4 separate regions of the Homo sapiens genome follow, and regions 1, 2 and 4 are each linked to region 3. Evidence: promoter capture Hi-C in 16 types of primary human blood cells and fetal thymus (Javierre and others, 2016). All regions are on one chromosome and are shown on one strand. The core of a region is centred on a gene start or on the middle of the fragment in contact, and the rest is flanking DNA. Distances in the headings are between cores, read along the strand shown.

Region 1 (6,722 bases), core at 1,440-3,939, 81 kb before region 3:
GAGAGTGAACCCACTCTCACAAGCCCTTTTTGCAATGGCAAGCAAGATTCCACTCATGAGGGCAGAGCCCCAGTGACCAAAGCACCTCCCAAAAGGCCTCACCTCCCACACTGTTGCATTGGGGATTAAGTTTTCAACACAAGAATTTTGAAGGGGACAAAAACATTCAAGCCACAGCAGTTGGGCATACGGCTTGCAGCATCTCAGGGCAGAGCAAGGCAGCAGGTGTCAACCCCCCGACACACTCAGTGGGAAGCTAAAACAGGGCCTTATGCCCACCCCAATCTGGGTACCAAGTGCATTCCAGTGTGGAGATGGCAGCCCCTCGGAGGCCGGCCATCGGCTATGGGTGGGTGCAGCAGAACCTGCGGGAAGGGAGACTGGCATCCCAGCCGCAAGGTGGGGCACTGCATTTTCCCAAAAATGATGAAGCCAGCCTGGGCCCTTGAGAAATTCTAAGAATCAGATCATTGATGTCCAGCTGCACTGGACTTCTAAGTAGAGTGAGAATGAGTGTGGGTCGTGTGTCATGTCACTGAGATTTGGCGTTGTCACCACAGCATGACCAACTCATCCCGCCTAGTGGTTCTTCCAAACTTTCACTTTTCTGCTAACCCTCTGCCCTAGCCCAATCCCATTCACTCTCACACTTTGCCTCCTCATTGCTGAGCAGATAGAGGCCATCAGGAGAAAAAGCCCTCAACTTCGTTTTCAAGCACATGGGAACATTTCTGCTTCTAAGCCCACCTTTGCCCCATGGAATTGGCATCTCCCCACCCCCAGGTCCCTGCTTCCTGTGCCTTCCAGCTCCCACCCCCTTCTCATCCCACCCCGCATGCTCAGGGGCATGGCTCCACGTAATCCTCCTCTCTCCTGTATTTCAACCTCTCTCTGTCTCTGCTGGCTCACTCCTCTCAGCATCTAAACCTCAGTTTCTCCCATCTTAAAAAAAAAAAAAGACATCACTTTGAATCATAAACCCCCTCATAATCAAGTCTCTTGGAGAACTGACAACTTGTTCATTTCTTTATTCAGCATACACGTATTGAGTTTGTACATCCATGCTGGCTACTTTACTGGCGGCTGTGGACACAAAAGATGAACACAGTGGGGTCCCCATCTTCAAAGAGCTGGCGGTGGGGTGGGGAGAGCAAGGACGAACAGGTGGCAGTGCTGACCATGGGGTACCATGCTAGCGATGAGCACAGGGAGCTGAGAGCTGAAGGGAGGGGGGATCCCTGGGGTCTCAGTCCAGGCAGAGCAGAGGGCTTTGGGGAGCAGAGCTAGAATGGGAGGCATTGGGGGGTGGAGAGGAATCTTGGGGACTTGGTCATGAAGAACTTTATAAGTGAAACTTCATCCTGATTTGTGTTTTTAAAAAATATTCCTCAGTTTTGTTTAAAGTTAGGCAGCAAATCTTGGAAAGACTGGATTAAGGCGGGAGGGAGTGTGGAGAACAGGGAATGGCATCAAGAGATCCTAAGGGAAAGGGATCAACAGAACTCAAAAACTGGCCAAGTACATCATGTGGAAAGAGGGAGGAGTCCGTGATGCCCTCTGGTTTCCAAGGGGGCCCTTCAGCAAGACAGCGGCCCCCCAGGAAGAATAAGGCATCAGGAGAAGAGAGTAACTTCACTTTCTCATTCACTGCAAATTGGCTTTTATCCCTGTCACCCCACTGAACCTGCTCTTATGAAGGTCTCCAATAACTGCCCAAGTGACAAGTGCAAGGAGAAGTCCAAGTTTTCATTTTACTTTTTGGAGACATTCTGAATTACTGGCTGTCAGGTACCACATCATCAATCGCACCCCAAGCCCAATGCCTCCTTTTTGCCCCCGAACACTGTGGCCCTGGTATTCCCCTTGGAGCAAGGCACTTGCCCTGGCGCTACCATCCAGCCAGAACTCTGGAAGCCCCTCTGCCCCTCTCATTCACCTCCCACATCTGATTAGTTATCAGATCCTGTAGATTCTGTCTCTCAGCTATGTCTTCAACCCAAATCCTGCTTCTTACTTGCAACACCACCATCTGGGTTCAGACCTTCACGGTTTGTCATCATTTCTACCATCGTTGCCTCACTGGTCCCCCTTCCCCTGCCCCCCTTCACTCATCCTCCACCCTCCCACTTTAACTACCTTTTTCCCATGAGAATCTGCTTCTGTGCTACCCCTAGTTAGAATCTTTGATAATTATTTATTTTTTTGAGACAGAGCCTCCCTCTGTTGCCCAGGCTGGAGTGCAGTGGCACAATCTTGGCTCACTGTAACCTCTGCCTCCTGGGCTTAAATGATTCTTCTGCCTCAGCCTCCTGAGTAGCTGGGATCACAGGTGCCCACTACTTTCAATAATTCTTCAAAGCTTCAAAACAAAATTCAAACATCTTAGCTCACCTCCCAAGTCTTTTCCTGATTGACCCCCGCTTATCCCTCTGGCCTCATCTCTTGGTTCTTCTGCACACCCAGGTGTGTAGGCTCCTCTCCCTCCCCTGACCTCATCACGGGCTTCTCACCTCTGTGCCTCCCCACTGCTGTTCTGGCCTTGGAAGTGCTTCCTCTGTTTGTTCATTTAGAATCTAAGTTCTAGGTAACACCTGCTTGTCCTTCCAAATAGGTAACACCTGCTTGTCCTTCCAAATTCAGCTCAGGTCCCAACTCCCAGGAAGCCTTCTCTGAGCCTGTATTCTGAATTAAATAACCTTCTTCTGGGCCCCTGGGCTTCTGAGGCATTCCCCCAACACAGAGCTGACCAAGAGTGCTATAGTAATTGTTTCCCAGCTGCCTCTGTCTTAAACTGGAATTTGTCCCCCACTTCTGGGATAGGATCTGATGTGTAACAAGTGTTACGTAACCAATTGTGCAGCAGGGTTGCCAATTCATGCAGGTACCATTTGACATATAGATTAACCCACCATGATTTAATTTGGTCTATAAATAACTGGATCATTTTTATTTTTCTCTGTCCCCATCCATTGGCTACTGGGAACATTTTCATGAAATGGCTCATCCAGGTTAAAGCTTACCCCACTCCAAAATTTAAATTATTTCTCTTTTATTTTATTTTTATGTATTTATTTTTTTTGAGACGGAGTTTTGCTCCTGTTGCCCAGGTTGGAGTGCAATGGAGCAATCTCAGCTCACCGCAACCTCTGCCTCCTGGGTTCAAGCGATTCTCCTGCCTCAGCCTTTCAAGTAGCTGGGATTACAGGCATGCAGCACTGCACCAGGCTAATTTTGTATTTTTAGTAGACACAAGGTTTCACCATGTTGATCAGGCTGGTCTCAAACTCCTGACCTCAGGTGATCTGCCCACCTCGGCCTCCCAAAGTGCTGGGATCACAGGCATGAGCCCCCATGCCCGGCCTCAATTATTTCTCTTTTATAATCACTTGTGTAAATCACTTGATGATTTTTACTCGTGTAATCACTTGATGATTCTAATTGCTTCTCTTGTATAATCGCTCACTCTCTCAGATGGCCTTGCCTCCCTCTGGCTTCTTTCCCTAAGATGGCATCTGATGTTGGGGGATGGGGAGTGTGGCTGTTTCGTTCTGTGGCCGTTGAGGAAGAGAGGGCCCCTGGGCTCCTGCAGGCATGAAGGCATCTGCTTTGTGGTATCTGCTGGCCTCTGGTGTAAAGTCCCTCATCTGCCCGGCTGTTGCTTGTCACACCTGTCTGGGAGTCCAAAGTCTATGGCTATTGAGTTCATAGTCTGCTCAGTTCCCGTGAGCAAGCAATCATCCTTGGGGTGCTGGGGTTGACTGGGCCTCCCCTCGTTTCCCGTTGACTGTGGATACCCTCATATTCCCAATAGGAAAAAAATCAATGACTGCCGTCACAAGACACAGTTGTTGAACCTTTCATCAATGCTCCGTAAAATACTTTCTGATTCTCAGACTCTCTTCTAAATATTCACAACAGGAAACATTTCGTCCAGCCTTACCTTCTGTGGATGATTCTGAAAACAGGTGTCAAAACTGATATGCCCTCCTCCAGAAATGCTGCTCTGTTGCTCCAGCTGAGCCTCCCTGATAGAGAAAGTCCGCCCATCAACAACATGTGTGTTGCTATCAGGTCCCCACGTCCTCTTCTAAGAAACACTGAAAACTTCCTGTTCCCAGGGGAAAAGATTTCACCTCACATTCCCAATAAAACCTAGTAAATAGAGGTGTGAGTCATTTCATGGAGTCCTCTGAAGAACACGTCAATGAATAAAGGCTGTTTTGTGAGTCATCGAGTTACACTGCTAGACGTGAACCATCGAAAGCAGTTTCCACCAAGGCAATCTGAGCGATGATGCGTCAAGCATTTCCTCTTCCTCCAGAGCATGTGTGACGGGAAGTTCGTGGCCTAGTGTGCATGGCTCTGTGCTTGAACATTTGCTCCAGGGCCTTTTGCTGCCCCTTCATCCTTGGCTTCCCACTCTAGTTGTGGGTCCAAGATGGCCTTGACAAGGGCTTCACAGAGAAGGTAGAGGAACAAGACCAAGAGAAATGGCAGGAGGTGGAAAATTGTGGAATTAAAAAAAAAAAATTAATGATACAGAGGTGAAGTGAAGGAAATGGTTGGAAACATCATTTCCTTTTGGCTCTTTCTTGGCCCTCTGAGTAGGCCAGATTAACCCCTGGCATCCCACCTCCCATGTGCCCACTGTGTCACAACCTGTGTGACACTTGAGGACTTGGTAGTTAAGATCCATTTGGACACCCCAAAGAGGAGAGCATGGAGATAACAAGGAAATGTTGAAAGACCCATATGTATGTGGGATTAGAACTGATTTTGGAACAGGCCTTGCGTTTGAATCCAGAGATCCAATAGGTCATATCTAGATGTGTCAAAATGCTTGGAGGTAGGAAGAAAGGGAACTTAAGAGAGAAGCGGTGGGGTGGGGCCAAGAGAGGGACATTGCTCAAGATAGGCAGAGAATTGCACTTGAAGAAGTGCCCTAGAGCTCTGGATGTGGGTTAGGAGGGTAGCATGGCCAGTGTCTCAAAGCTGTTTGTCCATCCAGAGGAGCGCAAGGCCGGCGTCATGTACTACATTTGCCCAGAGCCCCATGCTCAGAAGAGCCCATGCTTGGTTCAATGCTCTCTTGTCATCATTTTGAAATTCTTAATTTTTGAACAGGGGCTTGCCATTTTCATTTTGCACTGGGTCCCACAAATAATCTAGCCAGTCCTGGATGGGGGCATTTAGAACTTTGTCTGCACATGCCAGATGAACAGCCTGGGACTTGTGACAGACTGACCTCCCAGCTGCCCGTGAGCAAGGAAAGAGAAATTTTTGGCTACTACCGTTCGAGGAATTTCAACTTGTACATATTCAATGAGGAGGATGCTTGAGAAGGAAGCCTTTTCAGTTTCGTATCATGTCGAGGGCTTCTGGCAGTGGAGGGTGACTGTGCTGACAGTAGAAGCCATCTTTAGCGTAGATTTGGATGGACTCATTTTAAAGAATTCCAGAAGGTACATCCTTTGCAGAAAAGCCCCCCAAAGCAATATTAGCAAGATTGCTTTAAAGTGTTTAGTTTTATGCACTTAATATTAACAAATAAATACAAAACATATATTTGTGGTCTACTTTTTTTCCTTTTGTTACTAATTTTTAGTGGCTTGATGGTATGAAATGACTTTCCAGGAATTTGTTCTTTATTTATAACCTTATGACCACAAGAAATAAGGAGACAATGGCTTGAATTGCGACATGAAAAATTAAGACATTCACATAATTGGAATATTCAAAATACTTAGAAATAGATGTAGCAAAACTCCCAAAAACTCACCAATTTCCTCGTACTTTCAATGTCTCACGCACGTGCACGCACACACACAGGCACTCTCTCTCTCTCTCTCCCTCACTAAGTGAAACAGGTATACATTTTTTTCTTACAAAGCACAGTCTAATTAGACATGGGCACAACTCTTTTCCCTATACAAGTGAAACCAACTTATCTGTCATATCTTCTATGCCCAGCACAGTGTTAAATCAACATTTGTTGCGTAAATGAATGAAAAGTACTTAACTGAAAATGCAGAAGATTCTCCATGGTTTCAATGCCAAATGTTGAAGTGATTTCAAAGGATCAGTTAGTACCATGCACTGGTGGAATGGTGTTGGCATGCCTAAGGAGACACATAGGAATGGCCTACAGGTATACACAGGGACAGATGGGCAGGGCAGATATTGGGGAAAATGACGAAGAAGAAAAGTTTCTCTTTGGGATCTTCAGCTTCACCATTTGGCTTCGTTTTCCCCCCAACTCCTCTTCTCCTAAAGCTACATCTCTTTCTAGCCCCCCTTTCCCAGGACCCATGCTTTTTATCTGCTTCTTTTCTAGTGAAATAAGAAAAGCCCAGTACCTGATAAAGTATGCATAGCTGCTACCATGTTTTGAATGAGCTCCTGAAGAGTGTTAATATTTTAATAGAGGAAAAAGGAATGGATTACAAACTGTGGCATTCCCAGAATTAAGAAGCACTATAGGAATTGGGGGTGTGGGAGAAGAGACATTTCTGGTCCTCACAGGTAGAAATCACTCTTCTTTAAAAACAAGGATCACTCCTCTTTGAAATAGAACTGTTCAAATGGGAGGTGAAGGGCATTGTTATAGGAACTGCCATACCTTTTCCTCCTTTTTGTTTTGAAACAGGGCCTCACTTTGTCGCCCAGGCTGAGGTGCATTGGCACAAACACAGCTCACTGCAGCCTCAACCTCCCAGGCTCAA
Region 2 (6,531 bases), core at 2,567-5,066, 110 kb after region 3:
GGGACTACAGGCATGTGCTGTCACCATGCCAGGCTAATTTTTGTATTTTTAATAGAGACAAGGTTTCACCATGTTGGCCAGGCTGGTCTCAAACTCCTGACCTCAGGTAATCCACCTGCCTTGGCCTCCCAAAGTGCTGGGATTATAGGCGCATGCCACTGCGTCTGGCCAGTTTATAATCTTTTAAATTCATCTACGCAGATGTTAAGGATTTGGTAAAAAGAAAACTTTTTAAATTGTGTTTGATCATACTAGTAAAAAACATAAATCTACACCAGTGGGTATAGGTTTATTTTCTTTCAACAATACATATAGTGCCATGGGATCCGTGGGAAATTGGTTCCAGCACCTTCTGCAGATTCCAAAATGCACTGATGCTCAAGTTCCTTATATAAAATGGTATGACATGGTATTTGCATATAACCTACACATACCTTCCTGCATACTTTAATCATCTCTAGGTTACTTTTTTTGTTTGTTTGTTTGTTTTTTGAGACAGTCTCACTCTGTCACCAGGCTGGAGTGCAGTGGCACGATCTCACTCAGCTCACTGCAGCCTCCACCTCCTGGGTTCAAGCGATTGTCATGCCTCGGCCTCTCAAGTGGCTGGGATTACAGGTGCCCGCCGCCACACCCAGCTAATTTTTTTTTTTTTAAATTGAGACAGAGTCTCGCTCTGTCGCCCAGGCTGGAGTGCAGTGGTGCGCTCTCAGCTCACTGCAAGCTCTACCACCCAGGTCACGCCATTCTCCTGACTCAGCCTCCCGAGTAGCTGGGACTACAGGTGCCCGCCACCACGCCTGGCTAATTTTTTGTATTTTTAGTAGAGATGGGGTTTCATCATGTTGGCCAGGATGGTCTTGATCTCCTGACCTTGTGATCCGCCTGCCTCAGCCTCCCAAAGTGCTGGGATTACAGGCATGAGCCACCACACCCGGCTCTAGGTTACTTTTAATACCTGATACAATACCTACACATCATTTCATGTGAACTCAATGTAGTACTTGGTGCGTGAAAAGTTCTTTGGTTTTTGGAACTTGTGGAATTTTTTTGTTGAATTCACAGATGCAGATCCACATATACAGAAGGCTGACTGTACTTTTTTTTTTTGAGATGGAGTCTCGCTGTGGGCTGACTGTACTCTTAAAAACAACGAGACTTAAACCAATAAGTATAAACACTGTCTATTGCCTGCTTCATAAATCTGTGGTTAAATAAGAGTACAATGAAATTATTTATGATTTTAATTGATATTCATATTTTATTAAAAATAAAATTGCCATTTATTTCCAATATTCCAACAATCTAAATCAAATAAACAGCAATATGGAGTAGTCCTTAAATGTAAGTCCTCTACACAAAATGAAACCTCCATTTGAGTTTGATGCACAGAATGGGGTTGTGGTATAACAACTCCAAATTTTAAGATATCTGCAAATGTCTTAGAGAGACCTTACACTCAGCAGGTTCAAAACCAATCACATCACTTCATTTTTCTCCATAAAGTAGCACCTCCTCTTATACTGACATCAAATATTTAATCATCCAAACTAGAAGGTGATGGTCTCTCCTTTGCCCTCTTCATCTAATCAATCACCAGACTGAGCAGATTACACCTACTAAATACTAAATATTTCTCAAATCCATTCCTTTCTCTGCTTCCCCATTATTCTCTCGGTCCAGACACTCATTACCTAGCCTCTGAACACCTTCAGTGGTCTCCAAACTTGTCTCCCTATCTCTCTTTGCATCTACTTTCAACACAACAGTATAAAATGCAGCTGTGAACATGTCACTTCCCTGCTTCAAGTCTTCCACCGGCTCCAACTCTTCAACCCTAACACACTTCGATGAAGTTCAAGAATCTGACAGAGAATGCCCTCAATATCTAGCCCCTGCCTACTCCTACGACGTTATGCTCAGAGTCGCCTGACTTGAATTTTATAACTTTATATTCCAGCAGTGCCAAACTCTGGTAGATCACTGCAGACATTATGCTGTTTAAACTCCCTATGCTTTCTTTGGTTCCTGTTTACTCTCCGCCTGGAGTACCTTCCCTTCCTTTGTCGCATCCCTTAAGACCCAGATTGGGTGTTCTCTCTCCAACTAGGCCTTACACAACTCCCACAAATAGGAGGCAGATCCTCCGTGAGTCTTTATTACTTATAACTGTTTCTACTTCTCTCTTGCTGAGACTTTTAAAAATCATCAGTTCATGTGTGTCAGTATTACCTATGCATATTTCTACTCCTCTCTTATGTATTTTTTTAAATCACCAGTTCATATATGTCTCCCCTCCAGAGGGCAGATAGATAGTTTATCTTATTTGTCTTATTTATGTCTTGTCTTTTCATCTTCAGAACCTAACACAGTACTTGACAATTAATAAATAAATGTTCCATGAATGAATGAATAAATGGTTTTCAGAAAATCTTAGGCTATCCTTAGCAAACTCATAGTGGTAGCACAAAAGCCTCGATTTGGCATGGGGGTGGGGCCCATATCATGGAAGTTTTAAAGCTCAAGGGACCTTTAGAGTATCTTTAGTCTAACATGTAGAATGGAAAACTTAGGCTCAAAGAGGTAAAGTGATTTGCCTAAGATGACACACTACCAAGATGGGTAGTTTTGTGGAAAGCTAGTCCCTTGAGAGGTTCTCCCAGAATAAAAGGATGAATAAATACATGAATAAATAGCTTGTGAAAGAAATTGGTAAACTGTACTAAGTTTTTTTGTTTTTGTTTTGTTTGTTTGTTTGTTTTTGAGATGGAGTCTTGCTCTGTCGCCCAGGCTGGAGTGCAGTGGCATGATCTTGGCTCACTGCAACCTCCATCTCCTGTGTTCAAGTGATTCTCCTGACTCAGCCTTCTGAGTAGCTGGGATTACAGACATCTGCCACCATGCCTGGTTAATTTTTTGTATTTTTAGTAGAGATGGGGGTTTCACCATGTTGGCCAAGCTGGTCTCAAACTCCTGACCTCAAGTGATCCACCCACCTTGACCTCCCAAATTGCTGGGATTACAGGTGTGACCCACCGCACAGGGCCAACTGTGCTAAGTTCTGTATTCCTCAAACTTACTTGATCACAAAATCCATTTTATGAAAGATTAGTGTAGGATGTTGAGTGATTCTTTGAAAGAAGTAAATGTGAAATAAGTTCAGTTTTTATAATTTGGAAGTGGGTTAAAGAATCAGAGTTAAAATGATTTGGGAAGCTTAGAACCATTATGAGACTAGAGGAGAGACAAGGCAAGAGAATGTGTCTCAGCAGCTACCACATGCAAAAAAAGAGTCCAGTGTGCTGGGGAGATCAGGGCTTGAGTCCTAGCATGGCCCTCATGAGTCATATAAGAATTTGGGCAACTCATTATTCCTTACTCTCGGAGCCCTTTTTCCCCTATTTATAAAATTGGGATAATTCTGACCACACAGGGATATGGTAAGGTTTAAATGAGTTAACGTAAGCTGGCCCATAGTCTTGGCTTGTTCAATGCTGCCTTCTGACCCACCTCATTTATACAGAAATTGTCCAGTGAGTTGGCAGAATTCACTGGAAGGCATCAGAGTTAATTAATAAGCTCAAATGTCAAACAACCCTAAAACAAAATAATACAGATTCTCCCCCCACCACCCCTCCACCACCCAGCTTTCTCTGATCTTCTGAGGGCCAAACCAAAAGAATAATATCTAAAAACAGGTCATATAAAGTCTTACACAAAATATTCTATAAATATCATTCTAGGATGCTACTATTTAGCAATTTAGCACTTATTAAGTTCAGCTATACCAAGTCAGCAATTTTCTTTCTCTCGCTTCCTTTTATTCACTCTGTAAAACCACTATAGCCTTTAGGAAAGGGCTTTCTTAATTTTCTGGAGATAATCTTCCCCATGTATATAGTTTCTGTAAAGTTCCATACGTAATATTCCCATTTCAGGAGCAAATGCAATAGCCAATGCAATATGCTCCATGACGATGACCCTTATGTTTGTATATATGAGTATCTTCAAAACTGCCAACTCTTTTATGACTATTTCTTTTTGTAAACCTATGAATAAAGGTAACCAAAGTGATAATCCCTGATTCGCCAATTGTTGCAAAACTGAAATGGAAGAGTATTAAGATCATGGCCTGCAAAGACTGAAAAGTAGTTTGTTATATACTCAGCCTTTAGCCAGCTTGACTGAGTTTTAAAACCCTGAAAATAAACTGTGTGTCCTTTAGATACTTGAGGTGCACCTTTTAGATGAAGCCTGGCAGCTCAAAAAGGATTGATATAGCAAGAGAATTTTAGTGACCTTGGATCATTGATAGGATCCAGTCCATTATCATTGTTATTTTTTAAATGATGACTTGCTCCCATTCCAAAGAAAATATTAGAGAGGAAGTGAGGCACACACAAGGGCTCAAGCTTTGTACAAGCGCCTATAAAATGCCTACTTGGGGTAGTTGGAGCTTTTTCCTCCCTTATCATTTCCTTTCAGGAAAAAACTGTCAGTGGGGCACAGCCATTCACCAGAAGAAAGGCAGTTTTAAGAAAGTGTTATAAAAGCTGAGTAGTAAATTCTTGAGCCAAAGGGCATCAAGCAGGAATAAAAGGGATCTTAAGCATGCAGGCCCTGGAACGCATGTGAACGGATTGCAAGAGACAATCTTGGCCAGGGCAACCCAAACAAGAAGAGACAGGGCCTTGCACACCACACTGCCTGAGTACCTCGGGGTTGGCATGCTGTCTGCTGCGCGTGCCCAACTCCCAGCACCGCTGTCAGGCTTCTCAGGGCTTCGATTGCTTGGCCCCATCCAGCTCGTTAGCACTAACTTCCTGCTGCGCCCTGACACCACTCTTCCTCACTTTTTCCTTTCTCCTCTTCTCCCTTCGGTCCTCTGGGCCATGGGCTGCCTTCAGTTCTTGCCTGAAAAATTCTCTTTCCTCTCACTACGTTATTCTCCTCCCACTAATGCTTTTTTGTTTTGTTTTGTTTTTTTTGAGATGGAGTCTTGCGCTGTCGCTCAAGCTGGAGTGCAGTGGCACAATCTTGGCTCACTGCAAACTCCGCCTCCCAGGTTCTGGTGCTTCAGCCTCCTGAATAGCTGGGATTGCAGGTGCATGCCACAACGCCAGGCTAATTTTTGCATTTTTAGTAGAAACAGGGTTTCACCATGTTGGCCAGGCTGGTCTTGAACTCCTGACCTCAAGTGATCTGCCTGCCTCAGCCTCCCAAAGTGCTGGGATTACAGGTGAGAGCCAACACGCCCAGCCCCACTAATTCTTGATGTCGTGAAAGATCTTCTCTCACCTTCCAGGGAAGTGATTCTTCCTTTTTTCTGATGTCTAGGTTTATTTACAACTCATGTCATTGAGCACATCACTTCATTGTTCTCTGGTGTTACATGTGTTTATTTTATAATATCTTAATATGTCTTCTCTATTAAACATAGCAATATAAGATTTATTGAGCGTTTACCAGGTACCAAGGCACCGTGTTAAGTGTTTTGGAGATAACTCATTTAATTTTCACAACTATCCTTTGAGGTAGGGACATTATTAGATACATTCCACAGATCTGTTTTACTTAACAAGCACCTGCGAGGTTTCTGCTGCTGCTTTAGAACTTACCTAATGCTAATTTGTTTGCTTTTCATTACAATTCTGTGAGGTTTGCTGAATGATTCTGACCGTTTTACAGACTAATGGATGAGGAAGCTGAGACATAGAGAGGAAAAATAACTGGTCCCAGGTCATAGAGTTAGTGAGTAGCCCTCCAAGGTTCAGACCAGAAGAATTTGACTCTGAAGCCTGCACTCTGCACACTGAACATATGGGCATTTAGCATTGAGCATAACTAAATGTTAGCTCACCTCACTCACAAGAGAACAAATGAGCATCAGTTTTAAATGATATAGTGGGCACCAATAAACATGTATTTAAAACAATGAATATCTGCTCATTCTCAGCCCTTAAAGATTAAGTCTCGGTCAGGCACGCTGGCTCATGCCTGTAATCCCAGCACTTTGGGAGGCTGAGGCAGGCTGATCATGAGGTCAAGAGATCGAGACCATCCTGGCCAACATGGTGAAACCTCGTCTCTACTAAAAATACAAAAATTAGTTGGGCATGGTGGCGCATGCTGATAGCCCCAGCTACTCAGGAGCCTGAGGCAGGAGAATCTCTTGAACCCGGGAGGCGAAGGTTGCAGTGAGCCGAGATCACGCCACTGCACTCCAGCCTGGCAACAGAGCAAGACTCCAACTCAAAAAAAAAAAAAAAAAGATTAAGTCTCTTGAAGACTTCAGTTTATTTAAAGCATGTTTTGAAACATTTTAAAAGCATATTAAAATCACATAAAGCATTTTTTTTAAAAACTAGACATGCCATGTATAAAGGTAAACATTATTCTGAACCCAGATTGGGGGTTACTTTTAAGATATAAGGTAAATTAAAGATTAAGTCTCTTGAAGACTTTGGTTTCTTTAAAGCATGTTTTGAAACATTTTTAAAGCATATTAAAAACACATAAAGCATTTTTAAA
Region 3 (6,180 bases), core at 954-3,453:
ATTAAAAGCAACTTTTCAAAAGAGTAGTTGGGAAATGTGGAAGCCCACCCTTACTGCAGCATAGTTTTAATATAAATCTTAGATTCGACTGTGACTCTACTAACCTTAAATAATTGAGCAACATGTTAATATCATTGATTAGCATCTTAGATTATAAAGATTGTTTCAGCTGTCCATCAAATACCTGTTCTGGCTTTACAGACACAATGTAGATTCATTGCTGGCAGCAGGTTTGGAAAGTGTTGTCTCTTTATGAGTTAAAAATATCAAAATGGCATTTGAAAAAATGTATTAGCAAATTAAACCTTTGTACATGGTACTATGGACCACTTTCCCCCAGAGTCAAATGTGTGTCTCTCCTGAGAAGCCCTCCTTGGGTTTTCCCTGCCAATAAATGTGCCTTTACTTCTCTGAGCTGATGGAGGACTAAACACCCCTCCAGCACTGGAATGCCGGTCCTGCAGCCACTTCAAGTGTCCACCTTCTTATCACAGTCCAAGCCCTTTAGAAGGCAAAGATGATGGCTCTCCATCAGTGTTTTCAGCCCTAACCCAATGCCTGGCCCCTGTTGAATGCTGCAGAAGGACAATGCTGACAGCTTCTCCTTGAAAGAGGGTGTGGGAGTGACAAGCAGCTCTCAGGTGAGACCAACAGACACTGTGGCTCCGCACGTATGTCCCAGGCTGTGTTCTGGGCTGGGGGACCAGCAAGGAGAAGGATCAGCTGTCCGCTTCCAGCTGTTCTGAGGGATGATGCTGTGGGTTTTAGAGGAGGCAGGGGTGCGGGAGGCAGAGAAAGGCGCCAGGAAGAGTGGTGAGGAGAACTGGAAAAACAGAAAGCGCTGGTGAAGCCAGCAGGCAAGCAATGACTCCGGCAGTCTTCCTTGCCTCTGAAGCAGAAGGGATCCAGGGACAGTTAGTGGCTCAGGTCCTGCGGCTCCAGGTGCCCAGACGTGCATTTCCTGTGTGGAGTGGCCGGGGCCTCTCCTTGGTGTGCAGCCCAGAAATGTGGCAACTTTGGGTTACCCAACCTTCCTAGGCGGGGAGGTAGTCCAGTCCTTCAGGAAGAGTCTCTGGCTCCGTTCAAGAGCCATCACAGTCCCTTGTATTACATCCCTCTGACGGGTTCCAATAGGACTATTTTTCAAATCTGCGGTATTTACAGAGACAAGACTGGGCTGCTCCGTGCAGCCAGGACGACTTCAGCCTTTGAGGTAATGGAGACATAATTGAGGAACAACGTGGAATTAGTGTCATAGCAAATGATCTAGGGCCTCAAGTTAATTTCAGCCGGTTGTGGTCAGAGTCACTCATCTTGAGTAGCAAGCTGCCACCAGAAAGATTTCTTTTTCGAGCATTTAGGGAATAAAGTTCAAGTGCCCTGCGCTTCCAAGTTGCAGGAGCAGTTTCACGCCTCAGCTTTTTAAAGGTATCATAATGTTATTCCTTGTTTTGCTTCTAGGAAGCAGAAGACTGAGGAAATGACTTGGGCGGGTGCATCAATGCGGCCGAAAAAGACACGGACACGCTCCCCTGGGACCTGAGCTGGTTCGCAGTCTTCCCAAAGGTGCCAAGCAAGCGTCAGTTCCCCTCAGGCGCTCCAGGTTCAGTGCCTTGTGCCGAGGGTCTCCGGTGCCTTCCTAGACTTCTCGGGACAGTCTGAAGGGGTCAGGAGCGGCGGGACAGCGCGGGAAGAGCAGGCAAGGGGAGACAGCCGGACTGCGCCTCAGTCCTCCGTGCCAAGAACACCGTCGCGGAGGCGCGGCCAGCTTCCCTTGGATCGGACTTTCCGCCCCTAGGGCCAGGCGGCGGAGCTTCAGCCTTGTCCCTTCCCCAGTTTCGGGCGGCCCCCAGAGCTGAGTAAGCCGGGTGGAGGGAGTCTGCAAGGATTTCCTGAGCGCGATGGGCAGGAGGAGGGGCAAGGGCAAGAGGGCGCGGAGCAAAGACCCTGAACCTGCCGGGGCCGCGCTCCCGGGCCCGCGTCGCCAGCACCTCCCCACGCGCGCTCGGCCCCGGGCCACCCGCCCTCGTCGGCCCCCGCCCCTCTCCGTAGCCGCAGGGAAGCGAGCCTGGGAGGAAGAAGAGGGTAGGTGGGGAGGCGGATGAGGGGTGGGGGACCCCTTGACGTCACCAGAAGGAGGTGCCGGGGTAGGAAGTGGGCTGGGGAAAGGTTATAAATCGCCCCCGCCCTCGGCTGCTCTTCATCGAGGTCCGCGGGAGGCTCGGAGCGCGCCAGGCGGACACTCCTCTCGGCTCCTCCCCGGCAGCGGCGGCGGCTCGGAGCGGGCTCCGGGGCTCGGGTGCAGCGGCCAGCGGGCGCCTGGCGGCGAGGATTACCCGGGGAAGTGGTTGTCTCCTGGCTGGAGCCGCGAGACGGGCGCTCAGGGCGCGGGGCCGGCGGCGGCGAACGAGAGGACGGACTCTGGCGGCCGGGTCGTTGGCCGCGGGGAGCGCGGGCACCGGGCGAGCAGGCCGCGTCGCGCTCACCATGGTCAGCTACTGGGACACCGGGGTCCTGCTGTGCGCGCTGCTCAGCTGTCTGCTTCTCACAGGTGAGGCGCGGCTGGGGGCCGGGGCCTGAGGCGGGCTGCGATGGGGCGGCCGGAGGGCAGAGCCTCCGAGGCCAGGGCGGGGTGCACGCGGGGAGACGAGGCTGTAGCCCGGAGAAGCTGGCTACGGCGAGAACCTGGGACACTAGTTGCAGCGGGCACGCTTGGGGCCGCTGCGCCCTTTCTCCGAGGGAGCGCCTCGAGGAGTGGCTGGCCTGGACCCGCGAGCATCAGCGCTCAGACCGGGTCCGCGCTGGGGCTGTCCGTTTGCGACAGGATCGCTGATCCCTTATCCAGCTGTCGGGTTGGGGTCTCACTGCCGAGGCCCTGGGCACTAGGAGCAGCACGCACCGGGACCTGCCTGGCACCCAGAGCCCATTCCCAGAGGACCTGGGGCAGGTACGCAGGGTCCCCCGGAGCCGGGAGCAGAGGCTCCTGAAAGCCTGCCAGGCTGCCCGGGGCTGGGCTGAGGCCGGGACTTTGGTGATATTGGGCACTGGCCGCGACCTCGCGTCACGAGAGTGTAGGAGGGGAGCCGATTTGGAGGGGACTCGTGCCTGCGGGGGAGCAGGAGGATCTCAGGAGAGGGCCAGCGCCGGCATCCCATGACCCGCTTGAGTCCCCAAGCCGGACTGTCCCGGGGAACGCTCGGCGAGCGCCCGCTCCTCCCCGCCGCTCTCGGACCGCGGGGCCCCAGTGCGCTGCGCTCAGCCACCCGGGTGGGGCCTCTGCCGGGAGCAGGCGTGGTGCGCGGTCCAGTCCGTGTCGCGGACATCAGTGACCCTGACCCACAAGGGCAGCCCAGGGCCCAAATACCGTTAACTTACTGACTTACAAGCCTAGCCTTTAAAATCCGAGCGAAGAGAGGGCGGGCGATTTTGACCAAACGATGTGGTTTGAGGAATCGATGAGGTCCGCCCGCCACCTAAGTCAGCCTTCGCTGGGCGTTTGGGAGACGGGCGGTGGAACAGTCAGGGGCCGGGGGTTTTACCAGCAGTTAGACCGCCGCCATTGAGGGGTCAAAGCCCCGAGGAACTTGAGGGTTCGGACTCGCAGTCTCTGCTCAGTGGGGCTGAGTGGCGGAGATTTGTGCCTCGTTCCCCTGGGCGCAGAGAGCCAGATTTCGGAGCGCCTTTCTTTTAAGCATCGTGGAGAAAAGGTAAAATATGAAATAAAATATAGTAATATAAAATAAGTCATTGCAATGATTCCCGGGAAGAAAAGTCAATAGGATGGAGCGTAGTACAACAACAACAACAACAAAAAGCTTGTTAAACCCAAAAAGCAGTAATAATTAAATATTCTTTCTCAGTGGGAAGACTAACTAGACCGTCAGTTTCCAAGTAACAAGTAATAGTTCCAATTAGATTGGAGAAACTACTAAACCCGGAGACAGGGCGAAGTGGTAACTTCTGAGAACTCACTGTAGGTTGGGAAAGGTGCTAACATAACTATATTAAATAAAATGTTGTATTTTCTATTTCACAAATACATTTTTTGTTTTGAAAAGTCACTTGTATTAAAATATAATTGCTTAGAGAATTTAAATACCTCACTCGACTATTATGTAAAGATAAATCTAGCTAAATTACATGAATCTAAAATTACGGAGGGAAAAGTACGTGATTTATTAGATTTTCTGCTTCACATAATTATATCTTTATTTTGAAAACATGCTGACTTTAGTGAAGCATCGTTTTCTTTGTAATTGGAAGCATCTTAGATCAGTGGAAACTTTACAGAAATGTGAGTGGGATCCTCTTGTGATTTTTCTTAGATTATAATTTACTTAAATGGGGCAGCAGTTTTGCAACTCTGAATTTCTTTTTTTTTTTTATTTGCACTTTTTTGGGAAGAAAGGACTAACATTGGCAAGCTGAGAACCTCTTTACCTAACAGTTAACAGAACACTCTGTTAGTTCATGTTAGCTCAGTCGGCATCATGGGTGCTTTTGAAAACTCATAGTTTCTCTGTCTGGTTAACAAGCATCTCACAGTAAAACAATCAGCTACCGCCTACTTTACAAACCGCATCAGGGCTTTCATGCTCAACTGAGAGGCTGCATATCCGGGAAGCAATGTCTAGTAAGAAGCCACGGTTCCCCACTGCAGAGTTCTCTTGCGTCATTATGAACCTGGGTCTGCCTTCCTTCAGGTACTATGTAATCTTTGAATACTTATCAGCTATTAATATTCTGTGTGTGTGCATGCCTGGTGTGCACATGCATTGAGAGGTAAAATAACCAGAGGCTCAGTATTACAAAAAGATAATGCCTTTCCCCTCTAAAGCGCTTATTTACCTCTTCCAGACATTCTGGGAAATAAAAAGATGCCAATAATTCAGATACTTTCAAGTCCTCTCTATTGCTCTTTCTCTATAAAGGATACCAGTCCTCTTTCTCCAGCTCTGAGTCTCATTTCTTACTTTTAAGGTATCACAACCTGGATGAAAGCTACAGACCTTTTTCTTTGCCCTCATTTTTCTTGAGTTCTTGAACAGCTAACATTTACAATTTACTATAACTAAGTGGAAATACTGAAATTGTGAATTTTGTGAAGGAAGTCCATATTAATAATATTAAATCAAAGTGCACATGAAAATACCTATTTCAAATTGAATGTAATAAATCTCTTATAATAAAGTTAATTTTTTGTAACAATTTTTGTTGTTTTCTCCAAGGTTTTATGAAGCTGCACTTTTTTTTGGTCTAAATTGCATATTCGAAATATTAATTATTTAGGAGCTTTGGCAGCCTACAGTTTTCCAACTGAAGCATCATGTTACAAAGGAACTGTAGGTGACTACTTACTCCAGTTCCTCAAATATTGTTGCTTACTATTTTAGCACTTTGTTACATTTTTAAAATTTCCCTGTTGGACATTCTATAATAGGCTATCTGGTTTCTTTTCTAACGATCACCAAGTGGGTACTTTGTTTTCGTATGTAAAATGAAGACGTTAGTATAGGTGGTTGATTTCTAAGGCCCTTTTCTGACTCCAAAATTCAATGAATGATTCCAAGAAATGGCCTGAACACCGTGTCTGTCTTTCTCTTTTCTCTTCCCCACCTTATTTATATTTGTATATAGAGTGGATGAGAAACCATATGATGCTGGGGCTGTTAGGATGAACTGGGTTTCCCCTGCTAATCACATTAAACTTTCTTTTTCTTTAGTAGCATGTACCTAAACAGCCAGTCAATTTGGCCTTGAATAGGCTGTTTTGGAAGAGATGGGCTGGTAGAGGATGCCTGAGCCAGCAGTCATCTTTATCTTGGGCTTTTTTCACTAGCAGAATGTATAACTCTATAAAGTAGATGCTCCCTCAAAACTCTAGTTGCATTAACTCTTCTAAGGATAGCAGTCATTTTAAACCCCTATTTATTTCTTGAATTTTTAAAGCTAACACTTATTTGATTAACAGAATGGCTTTATTCTTTTAAAAAAAGTTCCAGATTTTAACAGGGATACTAAACCCCTTATTTAAAATTGAGTCTACTTTACGTGACTTTTAAGAAACAAACCAAGTAATTACTTTGTTCTTTCCAAAAATGATCGAGACATTTCTAAGTCTACTTTAAATTTATTTAATATGGAAGTTGAAGGTGATGTGTTACCAAAAAATGGTTTCAT
Region 4 (6,256 bases), core at 843-3,342, 98 kb after region 3:
ATTTGGACCTATTTGACTATTTGTTGGGGACTTGTAAAATGGCCACGGCCATTCCCAGGTTACCTACACAGGTCTTAAATGTGGCAAATGTATACATCTGACTTGATTTTCCCTTGCCACGAAACCCAGTTCTTGTTCTCGGTTGCTCTAAGTTCAATGAAATCAAAATCTTTTAAATAAAAACCCAAACATGACTCATAGATGCAGATAAATGCTGTCCATAATTTCAAACACTCCCAAGCCAACAGAAATGGGTTTTTCACTTACTTACTGAGCAACAATTAATCTGAGAATCTAAGTAAGTTTCTCCTGAGGCCCATTAGGATAAACACTTGAGAACTAACTTCATAAAAAAAACAGTGCTGGAGCTGACACCCCAGCTTAAAAAGGCTTCATCTGAGCTCCTTGTTTCTGAATTTTTTGCATACTGCTTTGAAGGGTCTAAGCTTCCTGAGACAATGTAAGGGAGTCAGAGTCGTATTTGACGATCTCTCCTGTCTTCCAGCTTCCACCAGCTAACAGTTCTTTCATGTTGCCACCTACAAGCTTCTCTTCCAACTACTTCCATTTCCTTCCGTGACTCTAAACGGGTGGGTACAACAATTACAAGGAAATGGCTATTCAGAATTTTTTATGTCCCACCTCTTAAAAAGATTCATCATCAAAATAAGAAAAGGGACACCTGAGCTCTCTTTCGTACACTTTCCCATGGATTATTTGCCTTCATATGCGCTTTCCTTGCAAAAGAGAGAATAATTTTTGTATGATCTTCAAGGAGGGAAATTCTTCTCTATCACCTTAAAGAATGATAATGTTAAGGGAGGGATTGTGTCATATTCATCTCTGTCTCTCTTACAACATCTGGGCAATGCCTTGATAATCACTCAATAAATGTCTGCTAAATTGTCTGCCACATATTGCAGACACTTTCATTACCAATAATTTCAATAATACACAGGGAGTATATGGGTAGGTGTAATTAAGCAGATCCTTCCAACAAACAGAAGAGAAAGCACTGTGTACTACTCACTATACCACAGTGAAAATTGTAGAGAATTTGGACCAATGAATTTGCTGGCTAAAAACATGAGGAACATGTGTTTAAGTCTTCCTGATCTGTAGATTAAAGACAGAAATACCTTAATTTATTAGATGGGATAAGAGAACACAACTAAAGTGCCTAGCACATTACTTAGAAACTCAAGAAAATGTTAGGACTCTCTCCTACAGCCAAACCACTTGTAGAGTATGTCCACCACCTTGGAAAGTCAGCTGTCACATTTCAGCCTTACATTACTTTAGCCTGTAAGTCACTTGTCATTATACTTCAGCAAGGACACTCTATTAGTCTGGAATCATTTGCACAGCCTCTGCAATTTCAAAGCCCATAACCAGTTATTTTTGTCCTAGGACATAGGCTGCAAAGATTTATAAGTAACTGGACTAACTTTTCTTTTCCATAATTTTAAGTATGAGAAACTAGCTTTCTCATTTTTTTCATATAGATTATACACTACTTTTTAATGCAAGCTTGGGTTAAATTTAAGAATGTTTAACAATTTGTTTCATATTGCCAATTTTTTTTCTTTGGAAGAATGCAAGTCTTTAAGTTGTCTAAAATTTTGTTTCATTACTTTTTAGACATCAGAATTTGGAAAGTGCTTTCAAGTTCATGCAATTTTGACTGCTAATGTTTCTTTAGGGACTAAGTTGTCAAATAATAGCACTAAAGTCTAGTGGAACAATATAATTGCATTAATTCATAATTTAAATTTTCATCTTCTAGATTAGGAATAGATACTTAATTTATTAAGAGAAATTAGGTAATTTACACACACACACACACACACACACACACACACACACACACACACGGTCTCCTTCAGGACCATCCAGTGCTGCATGCCACATTATTTGAGCATAGAAAAAAAGTTTCAAGCCAGGTACAGTGGCATGTGCCTGTTGTCCCAGCTACTTGGGAGACAAAAGCGGGAAAACTGCTTGAGCCCAGAAGTTCAAGGCCAGCCTGGGCAACATAGCAAGACCCCATTTCTTAAAAAAAAAAAAGTTTCAGCCAAACATTATCTTCTGTCCTTGCTCACTTAACATGCCTGTTATAGAACCAAACAGCAGAGAAGGCTCCTGTTATAACTGGCATCTATGCTCTCAGGTCACCCAAACAAAAGGGAAGGCCTCAGCCTCACCTGTTCCTCTCATTGATGTGGAACTGACCACCTCATAGGGTAGGACGTGCAGTCCCACATCTCAGCTTCAGGTCTGTAATTGTTACGCCAGCAGCACGAGATAAATAAGCCTGAAACCCTCATATGAGTCGGATGTCATAGGCCCCGGTCTCCTGAGGACCTGCTTTCCTGTTATTTTTCCATTCTTGTTGGGGCTCGGCAAGGGGAGAGCCTTCTGGTAACCACCACCTATGCAATACTCTCTTTGCAGAATGAATGGAGTAGCTGAATCATTTCAACCTCAGAAGTAGCTTGGGGTGTTCAATTAGTTATTTGTCCTGTTGCTAGCTAAAGTTTCCTTTTCTTTTGCAGATGGCTAGCACCTTGGTTGTGGCTGACTCTAGAATTTCTGGAATCTACATTTGCATAGCTTCCAATAAAGTTGGGACTGTGGGAAGAAACATAAGCTTTTATATCACAGGTAAGCCACACATCCTATAACCAGAGACAGCCTGGTGACTTCATTCTCTCTTCAGTCTTGTTTGCTTTTAGTGCATTTATAGCTTGAGTGATTTTTTTTTAATTCCATAGAATTGTCAAACTTTGAGTGCCTTCATCCTTGCTCTCAGGAATAGAATTCTACCTCATCGGATCTCGTAAGGAGTTATTTCCCTGTATTCTCTTTTAGAGTTATTTGTGTTTGTCTCCCTCCCAGACTGGATTATGAATTGGGAATCTTGTATGCTCATTTTTTCATTCCCTTCAGTACCTAGCACAGGGTCTGGTACATAGCAGTTCAATACCAATCAAGGAAACCAATTATAATGCATATAATATGATGACATCGTTTTTGGTTTTGTTTTTGTTTTAACCAAAAGGTTAATTTTTTTACAACTTAGGTAATTTAGACTTTTTGGGGAATGAGGCTCTGTAGCAATCTGAAACAGAGCTTTATTAACAATAGTTAATGTGCTATTTTTTGATAGCATTTAAGAATTTTTAGCCTTAAATATGATGGTCTCTGCAAATCTTAAAAACCTCCAAGGTACACAAATGGCACTCCCTATGTCCCTCAATGGGTACAGGAAGGAAGTAAGTAGCTCAAAGTATAAAAACAATTGCCTGGCTCCACACTCCCCCAATTTCTGAGGAAACATGGGCAGTAAGCCAACTTTCTGGAAACTTCTCACTGCCCGGGGCAGGCTGCAGAAATTGCCAAAAGTTCTCCAGAAAGAAATAGACATGTCCAATTCCATGACACATATGTGTTGTCAGATCACAGGGGCCTCTGGCAAGTTAGCCAAGCCCCAGAGAAGCTGTGCCATGGGAGATATCCCTGAGTAGATTCTCATAGAACGTCAGGGCTGTCAGGGATTCTAGAGGCTATTCTGCATCATAGCTCTTGTATTTTCCAGATGAGCAAATGGGATTTGGACTAATTAAATACAAAGGTTTGCACTGTCCTTTATATTTGGTTGGAAACAAGTTACTGTCTCAACCCATAGTCGTAGTATGTCTGATTTAGAATACAAAAGACTGAAAAATTCCTGTTTTGTTCTGAACATTCAATAACTTTGTAACAGTTTAATCAGCACTGTTAAATGGTACAGTTCAACTCTACTGAGCACTTGGAGGAACATCAATGAAGTCCTGTCTTTCTAGGAACAGGTTTCTAACACCAAGGAAACAAACAAGAAATGTCAAATTACATATATCCTAGTATCAAAATTTATGTGCAGAGGTAATGTGACAGGTGAGCTTGCTTTCTAAAGCCACCACTGTCCAATAGAGATATAATATAAGCCACAAATACCATTTAAAACTTTCTAGTAACCACGTTTTTTTAAAAGTAAAATTAATTTTATTTAACCCAATATATCCAAACTATTGTGATTTCAATATGTAATCAGTATTTTTTAAAAATATTACACTGCTTCAGTTTTTACACTTAAATCAATTTAAATAAAATCAAATAAACTGAATATGCTTCAGTTCCTCTGACACAGTAGCCACATTTCAAGTGCTCAAAAGCCACATGTGGCTCACAGTTACCATATTGGACAGTGCAGCTGTAAGCCTCTGAGAAGGAAGCAGGACCTGAACAGGAAGAGAGAAGGTGGGATTTGAATAGGTGGAGAGAAGAAAACAGACTTGCCCTGACATTTTCAGAGCCAAGACAAGAGTACCAGTGGAGGCCCACAAACCATACGTCTAACTACTGACAAGTTCTACATCAAGCAAACAAGCCATTAAATACCTTTTAGCCCCCTATGGACAAATATACTTTCATGATGACCTGAGAGGTCAGGATCAATTTAGAGCTCTGAGACTACTCAGATTCCAGAGCAGATTGTGGCAGCACCTGGCCGTGCAGAAAAACTAAATCACCCACCTCCCCTCTCCGCCCCTTACCCTGTCCACACTGCAAGGGGCCATGCACCATGTGTGGTGTCTCCCAGCCCACACATCTAAGCTCTCCCCATGCCCCTCACAGATAGTCTCCTTTGGCCACTGCCTGGACAGACCCAAAGGTGTGAATACTGACAAGCAGTCTGATCTCAGGAGGCCAGACCTAGGGAAGAGCCAACCTAGAAGCAGATTTAAATCAGCCTTATAGGGAATTCTGAGATCCCAGGGACCTGGATCATGATATAGGAATGGAGTGACACAGGCTGTCGGTAGGCATGCTCACTTGGCCCCATAAACTCTTCACATTGTGGGAAGAGCTGCGACCAGAACAGAGCTGCGACAGGGATCCTTCTTGCCTGGGTCTGAGGGCAGTACTGGAAGAGGATGTGCTAAGAGAAAAGGGGAACATCATGCTCACTTCCTTATTAATCACTGTTCCCAATGAAAGCTAACTGATGCCTAGCATTAGTCACAGCACCAACCTCTGGCTAGCCCAGAGTCTCATCGCTGCATCATATTTCTACCCATGGTGTTGTTGCTGAAAGGGCCCAAGTTGATAAAGGTGATCTCCTGCTGAATTCAGGCAGAAATTCCCTCCTACCTCTCACCATATTGTACAATGTATAACCATGGCGGGGTGGAAACCTCTTCTAGATCCCAAGGCTTATCCATACAAAATGAGAATTCGATTCAGACATACCTACTTGAAGCTCACAGTTCTTTTCCTCTAGAAATCCAAGAGCTTTAACTTTAAAACTGACACAAGTCCAGTCAACCAAGCCCTCATTGCCTGGAATATACTTTCCCTTAATCCTTTTCTACCAGTCCTGAAAAGTTCTGGTTTTGATTGTGATATTAGGTTAACTTGCTTACGTTCATTATTAGTTTTTAAATAATTATTATCTTTCTCTCACTCAAATCTTTGTCACTAGAGATGAGAGTAAAGACTCATGAATGTTGTACCTCATATGTTTATTTTTTGAAAAAAATGAACATATATTTGTTCAGTGTTTATACTTGACTCAGTGAGGGTAATGCTTTAAAAGTGCCTGTCTAAAATTTTAACGCTCTTCTTATCTAGATTTGGATCTTTACTGGTCCTCATTTCAATCCTGTTGCCCCTTCTTTAAAATACAGTTACTTGGGGCCAAGCACAATGGCTCACGCCTGTCATCCCAGCACTTTGGGAGGCTGAGATGGGAAGATTGCTTGAGCACAAGAGTTTGAGACCAGCCTGGGAAACATGGCAAAATCCTGTCTCTACAAAAAATACAAAAACTAGCTAGGCCTGCTGGCACGTGCCTGTATTCCCACCTACTTGGGAGGCTGAGGTGGGAAGATCACTTGAGCCCAGGAGGTCGAGGCTGCAGTGAGCCATGATGGCACCACCATGCTCCAGCCTGAGTGTCAGAGCGAGAGCCTGCCTCAAAACAACAACAACAACAAAAACAAACACAAAAATTTTTTTGAGTTGCCTTCCAAATTGATGAAAATGGTAAACTGTGGCCATTAGAATCCTTGACCGCTTCGACTCCAAACTTTGGCACACACTTGTACATAGCATCCACTTGAAACAAGCAGAACTTCCTGGTAACCATTCACTCTCTTTTTAAGTAATATTTCCACTCTTCGGTGGCAGTAGAGCCTTCTTTATTTTTACCCAA

The links. Contacts are between HindIII fragments. The CHiCAGO score rates a contact against its expected background, and 5 or more counts as called.
Region 1: a fragment that was not itself captured here is called in contact with the fragment with the promoter of FLT1 in region 3 in 1 of 17 cell types (monocytes); the score reaches 5.8 in monocytes.
Region 2: a fragment that was not itself captured here is called in contact with the fragment with the promoter of FLT1 in region 3 in 1 of 17 cell types (monocytes); the score reaches 6.4 in monocytes.
Region 4: a contact is called between a fragment that was not itself captured here and the fragment with the promoter of FLT1 in region 3, in 3 of 17 cell types (monocytes, endothelial precursors and megakaryocytes). The highest score is 10.2, in monocytes.

What each region holds. Positions count from the first base shown.
Region 1 is chr13:28,572,353-28,579,074 of GRCh38, reverse strand. LOC105370135 (a long non-coding RNA gene) reads right to left here and starts at 4,063. Exons shown (of 3, transcript XR_941799.3): 1 at 3,941-4,063. RefSeq lists an enhancer at 3,503-4,702. The HindIII fragment of the contact is 656 bases long and covers 2,362-3,017 here.
Region 2 is chr13:28,377,791-28,384,321 of GRCh38, reverse strand. All of the region lies in intron 14 of FLT1 (fms related receptor tyrosine kinase 1), which reads left to right. Among named protein-coding and RNA genes, the nearest start is that of FLT1, 110 kb to the left of the region's middle. The HindIII fragment of the contact is 1,196 bases long and covers 3,219-4,414 here.
Region 3 is chr13:28,491,151-28,497,330 of GRCh38, reverse strand. FLT1 (fms related receptor tyrosine kinase 1) reads left to right here and starts at 2,203. Exons shown (of 30, transcript NM_002019.4): 1 at 2,203-2,551. The coding sequence starts at 2,488. RefSeq lists silencers at 2,298-2,347, 2,468-2,587, 2,668-2,717. The HindIII fragment of the contact is 4,512 bases long and covers 1-3,817 here.
Region 4 is chr13:28,393,368-28,399,623 of GRCh38, reverse strand. FLT1 (fms related receptor tyrosine kinase 1) reads left to right here. Exons shown (of 30, transcript NM_002019.4): 12 at 2,556-2,664. Among named protein-coding and RNA genes, the nearest start is that of FLT1, 99 kb to the left of the region's middle. The HindIII fragment of the contact is 1,120 bases long and covers 1,533-2,652 here.